3 separate regions of the Homo sapiens genome follow, and regions 1 and 3 are each linked to region 2. The links are contacts of gene promoters, found by promoter capture Hi-C in blood cells and fetal thymus (Javierre and others, 2016). All regions are on one chromosome and are shown on one strand. The core of a region is centred on a gene start or on the middle of the fragment in contact, and the rest is flanking DNA. Distances in the headings are between cores, read along the strand shown.

What was found. Contacts are between HindIII fragments. The CHiCAGO score rates a contact against its expected background, and 5 or more counts as called.
Region 1: a fragment that was not itself captured here is called in contact with the fragment with the promoter of DPH5 in region 2 in 1 of 17 cell types (activated CD4 T cells); the score reaches 8.6 in activated CD4 T cells.
Region 3: a fragment that was not itself captured here is called in contact with the fragment with the promoter of DPH5 in region 2 in 1 of 17 cell types (monocytes); the score reaches 5.1 in monocytes.

The regions. Positions count from the first base shown.
Region 1 is chr1:100,392,965-100,396,276 of GRCh38, forward strand. The region is part of intron 4 of CDC14A (cell division cycle 14A); the gene reads left to right. It also overlaps the pseudogene BCAS2P2. Among named protein-coding and RNA genes, the nearest start is that of CDC14A, 42 kb to the left of the region's middle. The HindIII fragment of the contact is 4,409 bases long and covers 1-3,312 here.
Region 2 is chr1:101,024,389-101,027,637 of GRCh38, forward strand. DPH5 (diphthamide biosynthesis 5) reads right to left here and starts at 1,396. Exons shown (of 8, transcript NM_015958.3): 1 at 1,295-1,396; 2 at 921-1,078. The coding sequence starts at 1,055. DPH5-DT (DPH5 divergent transcript) reads left to right here and starts at 1,458. Exons shown (of 5, transcript NR_109849.1): 1 at 1,458-1,673. RefSeq lists enhancers at 926-2,125, 1,218-1,327 and a silencer at 3,119-3,178. The HindIII fragment of the contact is 3,765 bases long and covers 530-3,249 here.
Region 3 is chr1:100,364,101-100,367,340 of GRCh38, forward strand. All of the region lies in intron 2 of CDC14A (cell division cycle 14A), which reads left to right. Among named protein-coding and RNA genes, the nearest start is that of CDC14A, 13 kb to the left of the region's middle. The HindIII fragment of the contact is 735 bases long and covers 1,545-2,279 here.

The DNA.
Region 1 (3,312 bases), core at 539-3,038, 630 kb before region 2:
TAACAGTTCATTAAAAGTTCAGATGCCTTTTGTGAGAGCCCAACTTTTCTACCCGCGAAATTGTCTTTTCAGAAGTCTTGCCGGATGTTTTCTTTGTTTGCCTTTCCATGTTGCTGTTTAATTTGATAGATTTCATTTTCTAGTTGAAAAATAGTCCGTTCAGTCTCATAATTCTTACTACAGATATCCAATTTGACTCCATTTCTCTCAATTTAGATCCAGCTGTGAGTTGCATGTTCTTTCTCTGCCAGTTTAAATCTTGAATATGTTTTCTTAACTTCTGAAGTTCTTTCTGTGCATGTTCAATCATATGAACTAGATTTTCATTGTATACTTTCCAGGCATTACATCCATGCTGTGACATTAGTTTCAGATTCTCAGTTGTAACTGCTTGATGCTCTAACTAGGCCATAGAATTGTTTACACATTCTTGCCATGCAGTAATGCCATTTTTTTGACCAGAGGAAGGGGCTGGAAGTTCATATCGTTTCATACTGAGCAATTCAGTTGGTTGTCGAGCAGCCAGTCTCTCAAATTCATTTCTCATCATGTCAGTTTCAAAAGCAGAATAATCCAGGACTGTCAGGTATCTCAGGTAGTTCATAGTAGGTTGGTATCTGCGAGTTTACTTCTCCACCAGCACTGCAGCTGCTTCCTGCACACCAGAGGCTTCATAACCTTGATCAAAATATGGATCAAGTGGTCAATATCAATCAAGCGGTGGCACACGACTGTAATCCCAGCACTTTGGGAGGCTGAGGCGGGCGGATCACAAGGTCAAGAGACGGAGACCATCCTGACCAACATGTCTCTACTAAAAATACAAAAATTAGCTGGGCGTGGTGATGCGAGCCTGTAGTCCCAGCTACTCGGGAGGCTGAGGCAGGAGAATCGCTTGAACCCAGGAGTGGGAGGTTGCAGTGAGCCAAGATTGCGCCACTGCACTCCAGCCTGGCTACCCAGCGAGACTCTGTTCCCCCTCCCCACCGCAAAAAAAAATATATATATATATAGCAGTGCATCCACCTCAACCTCTCCAGCCACCAAACCTGTGCCTGCCATTCTGGGGACCTCAGGTTTGCCCTACTCTTCTCATTTCTTTACCCCTTTTTCCCTCCCTTGCATCTTCTCTCTCTTCTTTCCTTACTTATTTATTTATTTATTTATTGAGACTGAGTCTTGCTCTGCCCCACAGGCTGCAGTGCACTGGTGCGATTGTAGACCATTGTATCCTCAGACTCCTGTGCTCAAGCGATCCTCCTGCCTCAGCCCTCCCTAGAAGGTGGGACTGCAGGTGTGTGCCACCACAGCCAGCTAATTTCATTTTATTTTTGTAGAGACAGTGCCTTGCTTTGTTGCCCAGCCTGGCTTCAGGACTCCTGGCCTCAAGTGATCCCCCTGCTCTGGCCTCCCAAAGTGCTGGGATTACAGATGTGAGACACCACACCCAACCTCTTCTTTCCTTTTTAACACCTATTCTTCCTGTTTTGTTTAGTGTGGTTCTTCATTTTAGCAGGGTGCCTCTAGAACTTTGAAAGGATTAAATTAGATGCGTTGAGCTTGTCACAAAATACTCTGTGACAAAATATGTCTTCTGATGGAGAAGTTTCCACCACTTTAAAGCAACCAAAAGGGGAAAAAGCAGTCCTAGCATGGTGGAAGAAGTGCTGAGTACAGCATGAGCTTGTCTTACACACTAGTTACAGTCTTGAGAAGCAGTGTGAAGTGATTATTCTTGAACTGGTCATGTCCCAATTGATTTTTCTAATTTTGTAACTGTATTCCCCAGAGGGCTTTTTGACACAAACCCTTAATACACACGGAACTAAAAATTGGCAGTGGATCCTTAAAGAGAATTTTATGCCTTTCTTCGTATTGTTTGTATGTATTTACTTGTTGACAGTCTTGTAAGATAGTCAATAATATCCATTATACATATATCTCAGTTAAAATTTACATATATTAAATGTTGCTAGTTGGATAAGTGTCCGTTTTCTGGGGGAATCTTCTCTGGATACAAAAGACCTTTACCTTCGGAGCAGCCATGTAACTTACATGAGGCAAGCTAGGTAGGTAGGTATATTTTATCAAACAGAAGTCTTTAAGAGTGAAGGTGTTCCTGTTCCTAAAATGTGGAATCGGCCCTCTGTTAAGTGGCATTGACTGACTAATAAAAGTATTTTGTACTAAGACAAACCTTTTTCTCAAAGCCTTAGTTTTCTCATTTGTAAAATTTGGATAATACCTGAGTTTCCTTATCTGCTTCACAGGATTATTGTAAAGATCAAATATCCAACTGCCTGTTTGATAGCTCCATATTATACATCTAAATGATACCTCAAATTTATTGTGACAAAACAGAAGTTTTTATTCCTTCTCTCCCTAAATGTATTTATTTCCCAAGTCATTCCCTTTTTAGTAAGTGGACTACCATCAGTGACTTGCTAAATCAAAAGAGTAGTCATTTTGATTTCTTTTGTTCGCTCATCCCACATTCTACTTATTCGTAAGTTTGGTCAGCTCTACCTCTAAAACATATTGAATCAGAATGTATCTTTCCATCTCTGTTGCTATCACCTAGCCCAAGCCACTGTCATTGTTCACCTGGATTATGACCACAGCTTTATATGTTGTCTCCTTTTTATATTCTTGCTTCCCATTAATTTAGTTGCCATACAACTGTCAGAGTAGTCTTTTAAAATTGTAAATTAGATCACGTCATTACCCTGTTTCAAATCTGTTATTGCTCACTGATCTTGGCATAAAATTTATCCTTACCAATGCCATTAAGATCCTTTCTGATCTGACCCTCTCTACCTCTGTGGTCTCCTTGCTCAAGTTGCTCCCCTCATGCTGGACTTCTAACTGAAATTCCATGCTTGTTCCTACCAAAGAGCCTTGATATTTCTGTTCTATCTGGAATGTTCTTACTTCAGACCTCTGCATGCCTGGCTCTTTCTAATGTTACTTTCTCAGAGAGATTTTCTCTTAATTTCTACCCTGTTACCTCCACCCCTAGTCATCCTTTAGACCTTTGTTGCTTTATTTTCTTTACAGCATGCTACTATTTGAAATTACTTTGTTTATGCATTTACTTGCTTATTATCTCTTTCCCAGACTAGAGGGTAAGGACTTTATCTGTTTTGTTCGTCGCTGTGTGTGGAGGGTGATAAAATATTTAACAAGGGGTTAGGCCGGGTATTCACCCGTTGAGTTGGAAGCTGGGACAGGGTCCTGGAGGCTTCTTGCTTTGCTGAATCTTGGGGAAGTCTAGGGCCTAGGGGGTGGGCGTGGGTCCCAAGGAAGAGACTA
Region 2 (3,249 bases), core at 146-2,645:
ACAGAGCAAGACTTATTTTCTCTCTCTCTCCACATATATGTATATATCAAAGTTGGTCTTTACACACAACTTTTATTTAAATGCATGGCCAATTCAAGTAGCAGTTCTTAATTCCTTCTATAAGATTTTAAAGTAATCTGAGGCCTAAAAATTTTAAGTCTATTTTTTGTTTGGAAGACATGACAATAAATCTGCTCCCTCCTCCCATAACATATGTATTAATCCTTTGATTTACATTCTACTTAGAGTTTGACAATGAACCTGAAGTTGACCCTTCCCCCAAATTTACTGGGCCCTTATGAGGGCCAACTATAAATGTATAATATACTAACAAATACTTTGGTTACTTAGTGTATACTCATGTAAGTGTATACTCATACATTTTTATATATTAAGTCCAGGCTCACTCAATATATACAAGTGTATCAGTATAAGCCTTATTGGGAGATAGTCTATTTAAGATAAGATCTCTCTGGATAGGATACAAAAAGGCAATCGCCATTCCCTATGGACACACTTCAAAGGGGGAAGCTTTCAGCTTGGTTTTTGAATATATATAACCAACTCATTAAGGCTGTGTCAGCTCCTCATTAGCACTCAACTCAGAAAGGGTTTCTTGACTACCTCATGAAATAAGGGGTTTTGATAACTATCCCCCAGGAGTATAAAATAGCTTTCCTATTTACTGGAGAAAGCCACAAAATTAGACTTGTAAAATAGGACAAAGCACCCTTTCATTTTCCAAGTCACTTGGTTGGTGTAAAATTTCCATTCTTCTGCTCCTCAGATCATTAATGAACAAGGGATGCGTTTCAAAGGGTTTAAACAAGCAGACCTGAAAATTCTGTTCAGCTTAGTGTATGAAAATCAGATGTTAGATAGCTTTCTTCCCAGGAGGCTGGGGAACGCTCAGCACCTACCAAGGCTTCCTTCCCTACAGTTAGGACTGAGGTGTAGGCTTCCAGATACACTCGACTGCAGCGTCTAACAACTTCCAGGCCCTTGACTGTGATGTCCTTGGCATCTCCCAGGCCCAACCCGATGAGATAAAGCATTTCAAACTTGAGGAGAAGAGAGACTGCAAGACGAAGTGGACAGAAAAACCGTCAGTAACACCGAGGACATCTAAAATCTAGTGATGAACACGATGACAACCAAAGTAGCACAAGAGAAGAGGCAAGTCACAAGGAGGGGTTTGGGAACCTTATGTCACGCTTAAGAACTGGGATAAGAGGTTTTAAACAACCCTACCAGTTTTGCCTCTTGTTACACAAACCTAGGAGCAGCCAATTACCCGCTGAGAGAATCGTAGGTAGTTCTCTGGCCTTTACAAATTCTTAACTACCACCTTTCCGCAGAAGCAACTGCAAAAGCGCCGGCTCCGTGCAGAGAAAAGGCCCACGCCGCCGGCCTCACCTACGGTGCCGCAAAATGCTGGTGCCTTTACTGCACTTTACGACTAGCGGGAGGGGGCCGGGCTAGCGGGCTACTGGGCTGCGGAGACCAGAGCCCGGCTCCACTGAAGAAACCCGCCGGCTGCTGGGGCAGGGCGGCGAAAGGTCAGTCGGCCGAGAGGAGTCCGTGGAGCCACCGTTTCATAGCCTCAGGGAAAGGATCGGGCGTGCTCACGAGCCCTCTAACCCATGGCTTAAACACCCGCTTCCTAAGCCTGGGTAAGTGCAGTAGCTCTTCGCTCGAGAGGAGCCACGTGGAAGAGAGTCGGGAGGGGCCCTGCGCCCTACTCCTCCTCTCCAGAAACAGGGAGGGCTGGGAAGGATTTTCCTGATTTGTCCCCGGATTTGGCCGAGTGCACAGATTTTAATTCCAGTCTTCTCATCCTCCTGTAGTTCAACTAGGTGTCTTCCTGGTGAAGCGTGAGATTGGCAAACCCAGCAGTGAGTGTGCTTCTGATTTCCCAACAAGGCAATGACTCCTTGGGTTTGTCCCCAAGACCTTATGCCTGGAGTGCCCCAAGGATGTTTCAGTCACCCTCAGTGTCAGGAATCCCAGACCTTCCTGTACCTAAAGAAGTGACCTTTAATAGTGCTCAGGGATTTCAGACCTCTCAAGTGTTTCTGCCGGGGGAATTCTTATAAAGCTGTTGGTTACATGTAATTAGAAATAGGGAAGATTTGTTTTGACTGAAAATGCTCTTCCCAAGGTGACCTCATCCAAGTTAAAAAAGACAGCTGTCATTGCTTTTCTTAGCAGGCAGTGTTGGTTACTCAGAATTTTCCTGTTGCCTCCCCGACAATGCCCAACTCCGCTTCCTTGAACCTTGGCTTTTTTTCATTCCCAGGTTCCATCCACCTTTTTGCACTTCCTATCTATAAACTCTTCGTGGCTGTGTTTTATCCCCTCTCATTACGTTGATCTATTCCTCACACCACATACACACCCCAAAAAACTCAAAATGGATCGTAGATGTAAATGGAAAACCTAAACCTATACCAGAAGAAAACATAGGAGGAAATATTCGTGACCTTATTTAGGCAAATATTTCTTAAACCAAAAGCGTGATGAAAAAAATTGATAAATTGGACTTCAACAAAGTAAAAATTTATGCTCTTCAAAAGACTTGAAGCCACATACTGAAAATATTTACAAAGCATGTATCTGATGAAGGACTTGTATGGAGAATATATAAGGAGCACTCAGAAAGCAATAATAAAACAGTTCGTTGTTTAAAAATGGGCAAAAGATTTGAATAGACACCAAAGAAGATACACAAATAGCAAATAATTATTTTAAAAGATCTTAAACAAACAAAAAAAGATCCTAAACATCATTAGACATTAGGAAAATAAACATTTAAATCACAATGAGCTACCACAACCCACCTATTAGAATGGCTTAAGTAAAACAAACAAAACCTCACAAAAACTGGCTGTTCACTCAGAATTCCTAGTATCGCTAATATTTTGTAGATTCAAATTTCAGCCTCCTATCCAGACTTCCTCCCTCTTGGCTTCATGTTAACGTTCTGCTGGAAATCTTCACCTAGATAACCCGGAAGCATATTCAACACATCCAAGGTTGAATCCATCACCTTCCCTTTCCATTTTGCTTTTCTTTCCATATTATCTACTTGGATGGGTCGGGGGTGGGGGTGGGTGAGGAGAGTATTGTCATCAACAGATTAACCCCAGCCAGACACTTGGGAGTCACCCCCACATCGTCTGTCATGTCTGCCTGTATATCTCAATAGAAACCATACCGTCTATCACCATCTTGATTCTCAGGTCCTCA
Region 3 (3,240 bases), core at 662-3,161, 660 kb before region 2:
CTAGGTGGCAGATCAAGACCCTGTCACAAAAAAAAAATTTATTGATCACAATTTACTTTTTTTCTGTCATACACAGACTTCATCATTATGGATGATCATCTTTTTTTTTTTTAATTTTTTATTTTTGAGATGGAGTCTCGCTCTGTTGCCAGGCTGGAGTGCAGTGGCCCGATGTCGGCTCACTGCAACCTCTGCCTCCCAGGTTCAAGCGATTCTCTTGCCTCAGACTCCCAAGTAGCTGGGACTACAGGTGCATGCCACCACACCCAGCTAATTTTTGTATTTTTTTTTTTAATAGAGACAGGGTTTCACCATGTTGGCCAGGATGGTCTCAATCTCTTGACCTCGTGATCCGCCCGCCTCGGCCTCCCAAAGTGCTGGGATTACAGGCGGAGCCGTTGCCCCCGGCCCTGTGATCCTCACCACAAATTTTAGAGTAATTATTTTCCTTTTGAGAGCCTCAGCCACTTTATGAAATCTGAGGGTTAGCCTTTTATGTATGGGGGAATCGCTCATCATTCTGTTTTCTAACAAAGCTTTGCATATACTGTCTGTATAGCTCTCCTGCCTTCAGTACTAGCCATTGAATAATGGAGTTAATTTACACTGCTTGAGAATATTTCTGTGGGAGTGAATTTTAATTTTCCCAGTGCATTCCTGAAGAAGTCTCCTTTTGTTTTCGTTAATCTGAGTCTCTAAGGGAGTTTTTATTAACTGACCTTCTCTAACGAGGGATGTTAGAATTACAGACCCTGATACTGGAAGGTTTCTTGATACCATCTGGTCTGTTGTTTGGCTTTAAGGCAAAGTGAAAGCACTCACTTATTTTACAGAAACAGCAGCTGACACCTGACCTGACCAGTATTTACCTCGGGTTAAGAAGGTAATAAGTGGAGAATGGTTCCTCACCCTCTGGTGTTGTAAACCTGAACTTTCTTAGAAATCTAGACAATGCATCAAGGGACAGGATTGATAGTTGATATTGGGGTTCTCTCCTTCCTTTATGATCTCAACAAATGTCAGACTTTTTGCAGACAAGTAAGTAATAAAGATGATAAGTTTCCTAATACATGTAGCTGCTTTGTAGTCTGTGGGTTTGCTTTCTGGCTGTGCAGAAAACAGTGAATTTCATGGAAAAAGTTGTGTTCTTTTCCTTCCTCAAAGAGGAGACACTCTGAGGGAAATGTTTTCTGTACCCAGACCCAATGCACTGAGAGGACAGACAGAACAGAGAACATCAAATAGGGCAAGTAGACCTTGAGAAACATTTGAACAGTTGAATGGGTTTGTCCAATAAGGATAACTAGAGTCATAGACTCTGTAGAGTCTATATAGCGGCTAGAACTGTGATATATGATATTACATAAGAGCTGGAAAGAACTTTAGGAGCCATCTAATTCAGTGGCTTCATTTGATAGATGAGGACGTGGAGTCCCAGAGAGGCTACGACACCAGATTAGGGACACTGAGTGACCAAATTGGGACTGGAACCTTTTGGCACCCAGTGATCTTTAGTTCTGCATCAGACTGCTGTGTGTGTGGGAAGCTTGTTAGATGTGCAGCAACTCTTCCCCAAGAAGTTGGCATCAGTGTGACTGTGGGTGGTTATGCTAAAGGGCTTGAGCAAAAACTCAGACTAGTGCCCTCATCTGAGGTTGGTATTTGTTATGCAGTTAGGACCTTTTTAAAATGTGATCATTATGAGTTCAGCCATAATAATCACGTCTCATACAGAAACTTTATCATCTGACTGGAGGGGTGCGGATAGTATTCTAGTGATAGGGAAACTGTTAGGTAATGTGTGGCCCAGAGGCATTGCTGATCAATTTCAACAAAATTTTACACACACACACACACACACACACACACACACACACGGTCTCATTGTGTTTTGGAGGATACTGCTATTTTAGCATTTATCACATTGTAATAATGTCTTTACCTGTCTTCTCAGTAGATAGTGAGCTCCTTGTGGGTAGGGACTGGTGACCAATAGGCTTTTAGTAACTATTTGAGTGAGCAAGTGAATGAAGAGACAAAAAACGTCAGCAGTGCTGGTAAAACATTGAAAGGTTGGCATGCCTTATAACGATCTTATAGAATTTATTCATCCTGTTTTTAAAGCAGTTAATTTTTTTTGTATTGCAAGTACTCTGTGATGAATATGCTAACTAGTAATGCCTTGCTCAGAATAGGTAGTCATAAATTTTGTTGAATGAATGAGTACTTCTTGGAATGTAGCTTATCTTTTTGCTGAGGTGTTGGGAATTTTCACATGAAGCTTCTAATGTGTAGAATAAGGTATAACAATACTTCAAACAATGATTCCTCTGGGAATTGACTCACTTAAATTATAGTTTATTAGAAAAACCGAAGACAAAATAATGGTACATCATAAACTTCATAAATCTGTGAGAAGAGCTGCACATGTTGAGTATGACAGCAAGGCTTTTAGGCCCAGCTTCTATGTCCCTTCAAATTTGTAGGACCTGCACCTGTGGGGTGGTGGGTGATCCTACCCTTGTGAATGTTTGCTCTGATCCTTGGGCTCCTGTTTCTTTGTTCTCCTGGTAAGGAGATGAACCTCCTTCCTCCTCCACTTGCAGGACTCCAAATGCTCCAATTCTTTTAGTTTCTTTCCTGTCAAAACAGAAAAGGGTTTGATTTTAGCTATTTACACTTACTGAATAAAAAGATGGATGGACCGATTTTCCCTTAATAGTTCATGAGTTTCATTGTAGGCATTGACCCATAATTTGCCAATCTTCTTAGAAGAAATCTGCAAATAGGTGGAGAGAATCATTCGTTCATTTGTTAATTCATTTGGAGATGAACGCACGGGTACTCTGAAATAATAAAATGTCCGTGTTTTTCCCTGGCCACATGAGACCAAAAGACTACTCCCCTCTGCCAAGACAAAGTGGGGACCCGTGCTTGGCTGTGGCTCTGGAAGCCTTTTCCTAGGAAATGCCAGAGTGGAGAAGACTCTGTCCATTGTCATTAACTTCAAGTTTAGGAGTGCACTCAGCCCTCAGATTTCTGAATAGTCTCTGAAGTACTTATTTCTACCATCTCCTCCCTTTTCACTATCCCCAGGTTGATGACCTTCCATTTCTCCTCTTCCACCCTGCTTTTGTTCCAAGCTGCCCAAATAAATCTAGCACATTTGATTATTTTCATTGATTATCAATTAATTTTTATTTTGAATTTCCCTCTAGCTAATAGTATGTATTATAAGTA